Regions from separate parts of the Homo sapiens genome. Here region 2 is linked to region 1. The links are contacts of gene promoters, found by promoter capture Hi-C in human tissues and cell types (Jung and others, 2019). All regions are on one chromosome and are shown on one strand. The core of a region is centred on a gene start or on the middle of the fragment in contact, and the rest is flanking DNA. Distances in the headings are between cores, read along the strand shown.

Region 1 (4,673 bases), core at 1,183-3,682:
GAAAAATAAACACAATCAGGTGTCACCTCAGGCAGAGCTGACCCCTGGCCTGCCAGGGCAGCTGCCTGGACAGGATCTCAGTCTCTCAATCTCACCCGCTCTGAGGAGGCTGATCAAATGTGGTGCATCCCAGAGCTGAAAAGTTATGTGCGAGAAAGGAAGCAAGTCTCAAAGAATGATGGGACATGTCCAGAGGACACGGAGCCAGCTTCAGGGCCCTGCTGGCCAGATCGAGGACAATTTGAAGGTCCAAATAAGCCATGGAGATGGTGAGGAGTTGCACCAGCAGGTTCCAGTTGGCAAAAAGTAATAGTCCACATTTGGAGTTGGCCCAGTCACTGCATTTCAAGGTAACATGACATATAACAATAGGTAACTAGGGGCCGGGTGCAGTGGCTCACACCTGTAATCCCAGCACTTTGGGAAGCCGAGGCGGACGGATCACGAGGTCAGATCGAGACCATCCTGGCTAACACGGTGAAACCCCATCTCCACTAAAAAATACAAAAAATTAGCCGGGCGTGGTGGCGGGCGCCTGTAGTCCCAGCTACTCAGGAGGCCGAAGTTGCAGTGAGCCGAGATCATGCCACTGCACTCCAGCCTGGGTGACAGAGCGAGGCTCCGTCTCAAAAAGTAAAAATAAAAATAAAACAGGTAACTAATACCTAATAAAGCTTGAAAACTTTCAAACTAAGTTAAAAATAAAAAGAGCTTGACATCCGACTGTGAGGCCAGCTGTGCTGTCTGCTCCAGGTGTGGCTGCCACAATTCACTTGTGGTCCCTCATAGGCCTCTGGGGAGGGTGCAGCTGGAAGGGCTACAGAAACCCACCCAGTAGCCCTAGAAAGTGGCCTGGTCAGGGCCCCAGCCCCACTCAGCCCCATCCATCTCTCAAGTGGGCCCCCAGCCCACCCTCTCCATGAGGCAGGCCTGGGCGCCTCCACCCGACACCTGCCTCCAGTTCTTCTGGGCCCAGGCAGCTGCATCCTCAAACCAGGATGTGGAGGGTCACCCCTCTTGTATCCCCAGAGTGGCAAACCTGGCCAGCCACTGGCCATCTGTCCTCCCAGGGCTGCGTCTGCCCCCGTGTCCTCCAGAGGTACCCCCTTGAAATCCCCCTCCAGCCACTGCACACCCCACCTCCCACCTGTCCGTCATCCAATCAGCTGAGAGAGGGACCTTCCAGAGCCCCAGCTAGCACCTGGGGCCCAGCCCAGCACCCCCCTGGACAACTCTGAGCGTCCCACCTGCACTGCACAGAGGCCCTCCCCAGCCTCTGCCCCTGTGGCGCCCCCAAACTGGAACTGCCTCCAAATCCGCCTGTTCTCTCCACACCCACCTTCCAAGGCCTAGTGCAGTGCCACCCTCCACACAGCCCCTCCGACCCCTTCCGTTGGACTCAATCAACAGTTGCCTTCTCCTGGCCACTGCCCCCAACCACGACAAGCAAGGGCTGCTTGGCCTTGCAACCCCCAGGCACGTGACGGTTCAGGACTTGGTGGGCCGGAGCATCCCTTGCCCAAGGTTCTGAACTTGGGTTCCCGTCACCTGCAAGTCAGTGCCGGCGGCGCCCCTAAGCGCGCTCAGCCCACGCCGCGGTCCCTCTGGATGAGGACCGGCGCCTCTCCCCAGCTGCGCCCAGGCGCTTTCGGGGCCTCGGGGAGCTGGCGGAGGCCTCCTCCTGACCTCCCAGCAAGCCCTGCGCAGGAGAGGATGCGGCCGGCCGGCCCGAGCAGCCTCACCGAGCGGCAGCAGCGAGTGGCACAACAGCGTGGCGGCCGTGCGGCGCAAGTGGAAGGGCACGAAGGCGGCGTCCTCGCTGCCCAGCCAGCCCGACAGCAGGTTCTGCACCGTGAGCCCCGCCGCGTGGAACTCGTTGGGCGTGAACACGAAGCACACGGCGAACACCAGATAGGCGAGAGTGAAGGTCACCTCGGGGCTGTCCATCGCGCAGCCGCCGGGAAGCTGTCGAGCTAGGCCCCCGCCCCGGCGCGCGGACGAGGCCGCAGCGCCCAGTCCCGGACCTGTCGGTTGCGGCGGCCGCCGCCCGGCCGCCCGCGGGGCACTCTAGGACATGGAGTCCCGCCGCCCGGCCGCCCGCGGGGCACTCTAGGACATGGAGTCCCGCCGCCCGGCCGCCCGCGGGGCACTCTAGGACATGGAGTCCCGCCGCCCGGCCGCCCGCGGGGCACTCTAGGGCATGGAGTCCCGCCGCTCGGCCGCTCGCGGGGCGCTCTGGGAGATGCAGTCCCCGTGCGGGTGCGGCCTCTCTTCTCGGCCGGCCCTGGAGGCGGCACCGCACCTGTGCATTGAGCACAGGTGGGGAAACTTAGGCCTGAGCGAGGCCCTGGCCATGAAGCCCCGCCCAGTAGCGTCAGTTGCGGAACTCGAAATTCATGGGGCGACTGCGAGCCCGGGGTCTCAGCTTCAGACACCCTGGCGTGCCCTCCACTCCGGAAACGGAACCGTCGGCGCCCGAGCGGGGGGTGGGGGGGGAGGGAGGGCGGAGCCGGCGAGGCACAGCTTCCCATTGGACGCCCGCCCTCCTGCGGTCCTGCCCCCGGCCGCGCGCTGATTGGCCGCGCGAAGGCAACCGTCGGCGTTTGAAACTCCGGCGCGCCGGCGGCCATCAAGGGCTAGAAGCGCGACGGCGGTAGCAGCTAGGCTTGGCCCCCGGCGTGGAGCAGACGCGGACCCCTCCTTCCTGGCGGCGGCGGCGCGGGCTCAGAGCCCGGCAACGGGCGGGCGGGCAGGTAGGAGAGCGGCTACACGGCGCGGGGAGGCTGGGGTCCTGGGGGCGCGAGGCCGTCCCGCCCCGCCCCGCCCTCGGCCCTCGCCCTCCCGCCCCGGCCGCCGCTTTCCCCGGGAAGCGTCCCCCACGGCTCCTCCTGGGGCCGCCGCCAGAACCTGTACCGCGCCCTGTCATGGGACCCGGCCCTAGACCGACCGCCGGGCTGGGCCCCCTGGATGGTGGCCAGGGGCGGCTAGAGCTGGGCCAAGACCGACGGCGGAGCGGGCGCCCCGAGGTGCTTTGCTCTCCTCGACCCTCTCCTGTCTCTCGGTCGCCCACCTTGGCTCTTTGTTGGCTCCCAGCACGCGGACCCTCCTGTTGTTCTTTGGTCCCTTCCGGCCTCCGTCCTGGGGCCAACTCCATCTAGGCCGCCTGCGGCGGACACCTGGGCCCCTACCGCTTCCCCGCACCTGCTGCGCCGCTCCACCTTCCCCCCGCACCGCATCCCTCTTGTGCACCAGAGTAGCACCAAAGCACCAGCCTGGGGCCGGTCCCTTCTCTGCCCAGAGCCCCTCCCGGGCCTCCATAGTCAGTAAAGGCCCCTCCTGACTAAGGCTGGGTCTGCTGCTCTCCCGAGCTCCTCCAGGCCGCCAGAAGGCTTCCTCCGAGTCACTTTCTCCCTGAGTTCGAGGCTTGCGGGTCCCCCAGCGATCCAGCACCCCTTCCCCTGCCCTGTACCCAGTTATTCAGGGCGAAAACCTAAGCGTCGTCCGTAAGTCCCATATGTGCCAGTGGCCAGGCCCGGGTCTGGTCTGGCATCTACTCCTTGGGCTCCAGAAGCCTGTGGTTTCCCTGCTTCCCTTCTGCTCTTAACCTCCCCACCCACACACAGCACCACAGTGGGCTTCTCAAGCTGCAGCACCGACCTGCCGGGGCTGCCCCCTCTCTCTTCTCCAGGACCCTCCCCAACTTTGCTCTTCTTCAAATCAAAGCCTCCCCAGGTCCCCCTCCACCACCAGGTGCCTGTGGGGTTCCTGCCCTGGTCGACACTCGGTTCTCTCTGGCAGCCTTTTTCCCTACGTCATTCCCTAGACTGGGAACGCTGTAGACAGAAAGGGTGGCAAGTGTGTGGGTGACCGGCGTGAGGACCTGGGCAGCCCTGGAACCTGGGACTGACTGGAGGCTCTGATGTGGAAGTTCCTTGGCACCTGTTGCTCAGCTCTGGGCTTCCCTTGTTTGCGCATCGTCTCCCAGCTCCTCCTCTGGGCCTTCACCCTCTCAGCCTGGTCTTGTCCCGCTGCCTAGCCCGGTGGGAGAGAGCAGACCAGAGCCGCTGTCCTGCTTTTCTGCCCTCTACTGCCCGGTCCTGCCTCACGTCACACGCAGAGGCCTGTGGGGAGACCAGGGCTTCCTCTGGCTCATCCGGGTTTCTTATTGGCCCGGGCTTTTCCGTCTCTTGACTTCTGCTTGATATAGTAATACAGCAGTAGAGATTATGCAGGCTTGGGTTTTCTTTCTCACCATCTCAGCCTGAAGGCCCTTTAGCTCTTGGTCCCAGGAAGCAGCAGTGCTGCCCATGGCTCCCCCTGCCAGGCTGGAGAGTGAGTCTCTGAAGCAAGATGGGGACTCAGTCTGAGGCTTTCTCTGCCAAGAGACACGTGTGGGAGGTGTGAGTTCCAGAGCAATGAGCACACCTGTGTGGGAAGTGGTCGTGCCCCTTGCAGCAGCTGTCACGTCTGTGTCTGGACAATGTGGTAGTGTTGCCCTCACACTGACACAAACATGTTCTGCTTTTCCAGAATGAGTCTGCAGGTCTTAAACGACAAAAATGTCAGCAATGAAAAAAATACAGAAAATTGCGACTTCCTGTTTTCGCCACCAGAAGTTACCGGAAGATCGTCTGTTCTTCGTGTGTCACAGAAAGAAAATGTGCCACCCAAGA
Region 2 (4,673 bases), core at 1,012-3,511, 380 kb before region 1:
TGGCAGGAAAATGGGCCCCGTTGCCATGGGTCAGGCAAGAAACAGAAGGAAGCATTTTGTTCAGAGAATGGCAGAAGCCACCAGAAGCCCAGAGGCAACCAGTCCTGGGGAGTGAGGATGCCAGGAGCTGTTCTTCTCAGTGAGGACCTTCTGGACTGTGGGCTTCCTCCCTTGTAGACTTTGATTTTTAGACAAAAATGAGATTTAAAACAGCCTTTAAAAATGTTGGAGTTAAGTGTGGTGTTTACCCTAAACTGAGACTGAGAAGCTTACAGAGACTGATGGGTGACGTCCCCTGATGACCACCTCCCCTCCCTCCAGGTGTGGCCGTCTCCCCCCAAGCTAGAGACTGAGCGGCCTTTCTGGGTTGATGTGAAGGTTTTTCTCTCCTGTGCTCACACACGCTCTCTCTCTTAAGTCTAAACCTGAGGTTATTTAGGGACAGACATTCATCAGGTTTAATTTTCTGTTCTGTGATGCTTTAACCTAACATGGACCGGTTGTTTTCCATTTCATACATGATTTCTCTGAAGTAAGAGTTTTTACACCTAATGCTCTGAGGTGCACTCTGCACTGAGCTGTCCTTCCAGCTGTGTGAGTCTATTTTTTGTCACAGTGCACAGGTTGCACACATTCCAGATCATTCAAGTTGATTCACAAGTGAGTGTAGCAGAGTTAAGTCAGCACCAGCCCTGTGGCATGTTGAAATCAGAGTTAAGTCAGCACTGGCCCCACAGTGTGTTGAAATCAGAGTTAAGTCAGCACTGGCCCCACAGTGTGTTGAAATCACAGAGTTAAGTCAGCACTGGCCCCATGGCGTGTTGAAACCACAGAGTTAAGTCAGCACTGGCCCCACAGTGTGTTGAAATCACAGAGTTAAGTCAGCACTGGCCCCATGGCGTGTTGAAACCACAGAGTTAAGTCAGCTCTGGCCCCCACAGTGTGTTGAAATCACAGAGTTAAGTCAGCACTGGCCCCATGGCGTGTTGAAACCACAGAGTTAAGTCAGCACTGGCCCCACAGTGTGTTGAAATCACAGAGTTAAGTCAACACCTGCCCTGCAGTGTGTTGAAATCACAGAGTTAAGTCAGCACCTGCCCTGCAGTGTGTTGAAATCACAGAGTTAAGTCAGCACCTGCCCTGCAGTGTGTTGAAATCAGAGTTAAGTCAGCACCTGCCCTGCAGTGTGTTGAAATCACAGAGTTAAGTCAGCACCTGCCCTGCAGTGTGTTGAAATCACAGAGTTAAGTCAGCACCTGCCCTGCAGTGTGTTGAAATCAGAGTTAAGTCAGCACCTGCCCTGCAGTGTGTTGAAATCACAGAGTTAAGTCAGCACCTGCCCTGCAGTGTGTTGAAATCACAGAGTTAAGTCAGCACCTGCCCTGCAGTGTGTTGAAATCAGAGTTAAGTCAGCACTCATCCCGCAGCATGTTGAAATCAGGGAGTTAGATCAGCACTGGCCTTGCAGCATGTTGAAATCAGAGAGTTCCAGCACTCGTCCCGCAGAGTGTTGAAATCAGAGTTAAGTCAGCCCTTGTCCTGCAGGTGTTGAAATCAGAGCGTTAAGTCAGCACTGGCCTCACAGCGTGTTGAAATCAGAGACTTAAGTCAGAACTGGCCCCACAGTATTTTGAAATCAGAGAAGTCAGCACTCCCCCGACAGTGTGTTGAAATCAGAGTTAAGTCAGCACTCACCCCACAGCATGTTGAAATCGGAGTTAAGTCAGCACTCACCCCACAGCATGTTAAAATCAGAGTTAAGTCAGCACTCATCCCACAGTGTGTTGAAATCAGAGTTAAGTCAGCACTTGTCCCGCAGCATGTTGAAATCAGAGTTAAGTTCATACTGGCCTCGCAGTGTGTTGAAATCAGAGAGTTAAGTCAGCACTGACCCTGTAGCATGTTGAAATCAGAGTTAAGTCAGCACTCATCCCGCAGCATGTTGAAATCATAGTTAAGTCAGCACTCATCCCACTGTGTGTATCAGTCAACACTTGAGGGAGTTATGCTTTGTGCTGACCCTTAGTGCAAAGTGTGTGGGTCACTGGGGGATGGCTGTGGGCCGATGGCACCTGCTTCACCATGGTCCACGTTTTTAAGCTGTCCCAGGAGCTTCCCTGGGAGCATCCCCAGGACCCTCTGCTCTCTGTCTTCCAGGACCTTCTGGACCCTGCACGGTGGCGGATGCTGATCCAGCAGTTCCGGTACGACAACTACCGACTACACCAGCTGGGAAACAATTCTGTGTTCACCCTCACCCTGCAGGCTGGCCTCTCAGCCATCAAGACACCGTATCCTACCTCCCGTGCGCAGTGCGGTTTGGCCTGGGGTTGGCATCTTTGGTCATATTTTAACACGCTGACCCTGCACCTTGCCACTCTTGTCCTCCCACCACAGACAGCCCCGAGCTCCCGTGTGCTGCACTTGCGTGGTGTCTGGATGGTCGGGGTGGGGCCGTGTTGAGGGGCCTCGGATGCGTCGTGCAGCCTTCACTCTGGGAAGTGGCGCGCTTCCTCTCTCATCATCTCAGAGGCCGCCATGGGCATTGATCTAAAAGCCCGATTTTGATGTGTTCTGGCAGCCGGCAGATTACCATTCAGAATAGTTTTCCCGTGTGATTACCAAGAACCTTGCCTGTGACTGACTCTGTCCCGCCTGTGACTGACTCTGTCCCACCTGTGACCGACTCTGTCTGCCTGTGACTCTGTCCCTGCCTGTGACTGACTCCATCCTGCCTGTGACTCTGTCCCACCTGCGACTCACTGAGTTCCTGCCTGTGACTCACTCGGCTCCCGCCTGCAACGGACTTGGTCCCTGCCTGCGACTCACTGTGGCCCTGCCTGTGACTGAGTCTGTCCCGTTTGTGACTGATTCCTTCCTGTGACTGACTCTGTCCCACCTGCAACTGACTTCTTCCTGCCTGTGACAGACTCTGCCCCTGCCTGCGACTGAGTCTGTCCCTTCCTGCAACTGAGTCCATCCCGCCTGTGACTCTGTCCTCGCCTGTGACTGACTCTGCCCCTGCCCTGTGACTGTCTCACCTGTGACTGACTCCGTCCTGCCTGTGACTCAGCCTCTTACTGACTCTACCCCTGCCTGTGACTGACTCTGCCCTCTCCTGTGACTGACTCTGTCCCCACCTGTGACTGACTCTGTCCCCACCTGTGACTGACTGTCCTCCTGCAACTGACTCTGTCCCCGCCTATGAATGTCTTTCATGTGACCTGCCTCAGGCCCAGAGGGCAGTGAGTGTTTCGCGATTGCTGCTGGTACCTGGCTGTGCCGGGGTATGAATGAGACTCAGGCCCCCTCCCTTGTCCCCTCTTTGTGGAACTCTGGGCGAGAGGGCTGGCGTGCTTGCCCACTGCCTGTTCCTAGGTGCCAGCAGAACGTCCCTGCTGGGTGGCTCTTGTCCTGCCTGGAGAGGTTGCGTGGCCGGGGAGAGGGCGGCGGGCGACGGAGCCACTCTGTGCCTGTGGTCCTGGTGCTGGAGGCCGGGGTGAGAAGGCGCAGGCTTCTTGTCTCCACCGAGGCCTCAGTGGGGCTGTTTAGCTGTCGAGTGCAGCACTTCCTGTGCCTCGAAAGACAGCCCCGTGTAGTCAGCATGGCGCCCACATAGCCAGAAGGGCACGCAGCCCAGGGCAGAGTGGCCACAGGGGGCTGGGCTCACCCCGGCTGCCCTGAGTGGCCCCCAACCCTTCCTTGACCCGATGCTCAGACAGTGCTACAAGGAGGACGGCAGCTCCAAGAGCCCTGACTGCCCTGTGTGCAGCCGCTCCCTGAACAAGCTGGCGCAGCCCCTGCCCATGGCCCACTGTGCCAACTCCCGCCTGGTCTGCAAGATTTCTGGCGACGTGATGAACGAGAACAATCCGCCCATGATGCTGCCCAACGGCTACGTCTACGGCTACAATGTGAGGGGGGCAGGGCAGGGGGGCCAGGCTGGCACGCATCGCCATCGGGACAGGGCTGTGTGGGACGGGCAGGGCAGGGGGGCCAGGCTGGCACGCATCGCCATCGGGACAGGGCTGTGTGGGACGGGCAGGGCGGGGGGCCAGGCTGGCACGCGTCGCCATCGGGACAGGGCTGTGTGGGGCGGGCAGGGCAGCGGGGCCAGGCTGGCACACGTCGCCATTGGGACAGGGCTGTCCTCTCGCCCCACCCTGCCTTAGCTTCGTTCGAAATGGATGAAGGGGTGGGAAGGACAGGCGAGGTGGCCCCGGGATTTCTTTGGCAGGTGTGCCTTCGGGAAGGAACTTTGCCTGAGAGGATGAGTCATTCCCTGGTGGTTCATTGTGGGGATTTTCCATGGAAATCCGTGTGTACGTTGTAGTCGCTTGCCTTAATGCATTCCCGGTTTTATTTTTCAGTCTCTGCTTTCTATCCGTCAAGATGATAAAGTCGTGTGCCCGAGAACCAAAGAAGTCTTCCACTTCTCACAAGCCGAGAAGGTGTACATCATGTAGGCCCCACGTCGTGAAGCGCACGCCTCGGGGACGGGCTGCAGTGGGCGGGGAGGCCACGCCTTCCTCCTGTCCCACGCTCCAGCCTGCCGCGGCGTTTCTGTTTCTTGCGACCAAAGATCCGTGAGCAACGATAAATACTCTTAGGAAGAGAGAAAATAAGGTTTCATAAGTTTGTACTTGAAAACATTTGGATTGGTAGGATTTTGT

The links. The method cuts DNA at HindIII sites, captures the fragments that hold promoters and counts their contacts. A contact is called where the count stands out against the background at its distance.
Region 2: a contact is called between a fragment that was not itself captured here and the fragment with the promoter of TMEM129 in region 1, in 1 of the 25 tissues and cell types used here (dorsolateral prefrontal cortex).

Annotation. Positions count from the first base shown.
Region 1 is chr4:1,718,891-1,723,563 of GRCh38, forward strand. It overlaps TMEM129 (transmembrane protein 129, E3 ubiquitin ligase), which reads right to left and starts at 2,433. Exons shown (of 4, transcript NM_001127266.2): 1 at 1,743-2,433. The coding sequence starts at 1,947. TACC3 (transforming acidic coiled-coil containing protein 3) reads left to right here and starts at 2,631. Exons shown (of 16, transcript NM_006342.3): 1 at 2,631-2,753; 2 at 4,531-4,673. The coding sequence starts at 4,532. RefSeq lists enhancers at 564-643, 1,284-1,383, 2,466-3,461 and silencers at 1,974-2,023, 2,034-2,843. The HindIII fragment of the contact is 14,879 bases long and covers 1-4,673 here.
Region 2 is chr4:1,334,704-1,339,376 of GRCh38, forward strand. MAEA (macrophage erythroblast attacher, E3 ubiquitin ligase) reads left to right here. Exons shown (of 9, transcript NM_001017405.3): 7 at 2,158-2,291; 8 at 3,719-3,914; 9 at 4,371-4,673. The coding sequence ends at 4,466. Among named protein-coding and RNA genes, the nearest start is that of UVSSA, 10 kb to the right of the region's middle. RefSeq lists an enhancer at 4,479-4,673. The HindIII fragment of the contact is 5,951 bases long and covers 1-4,673 here.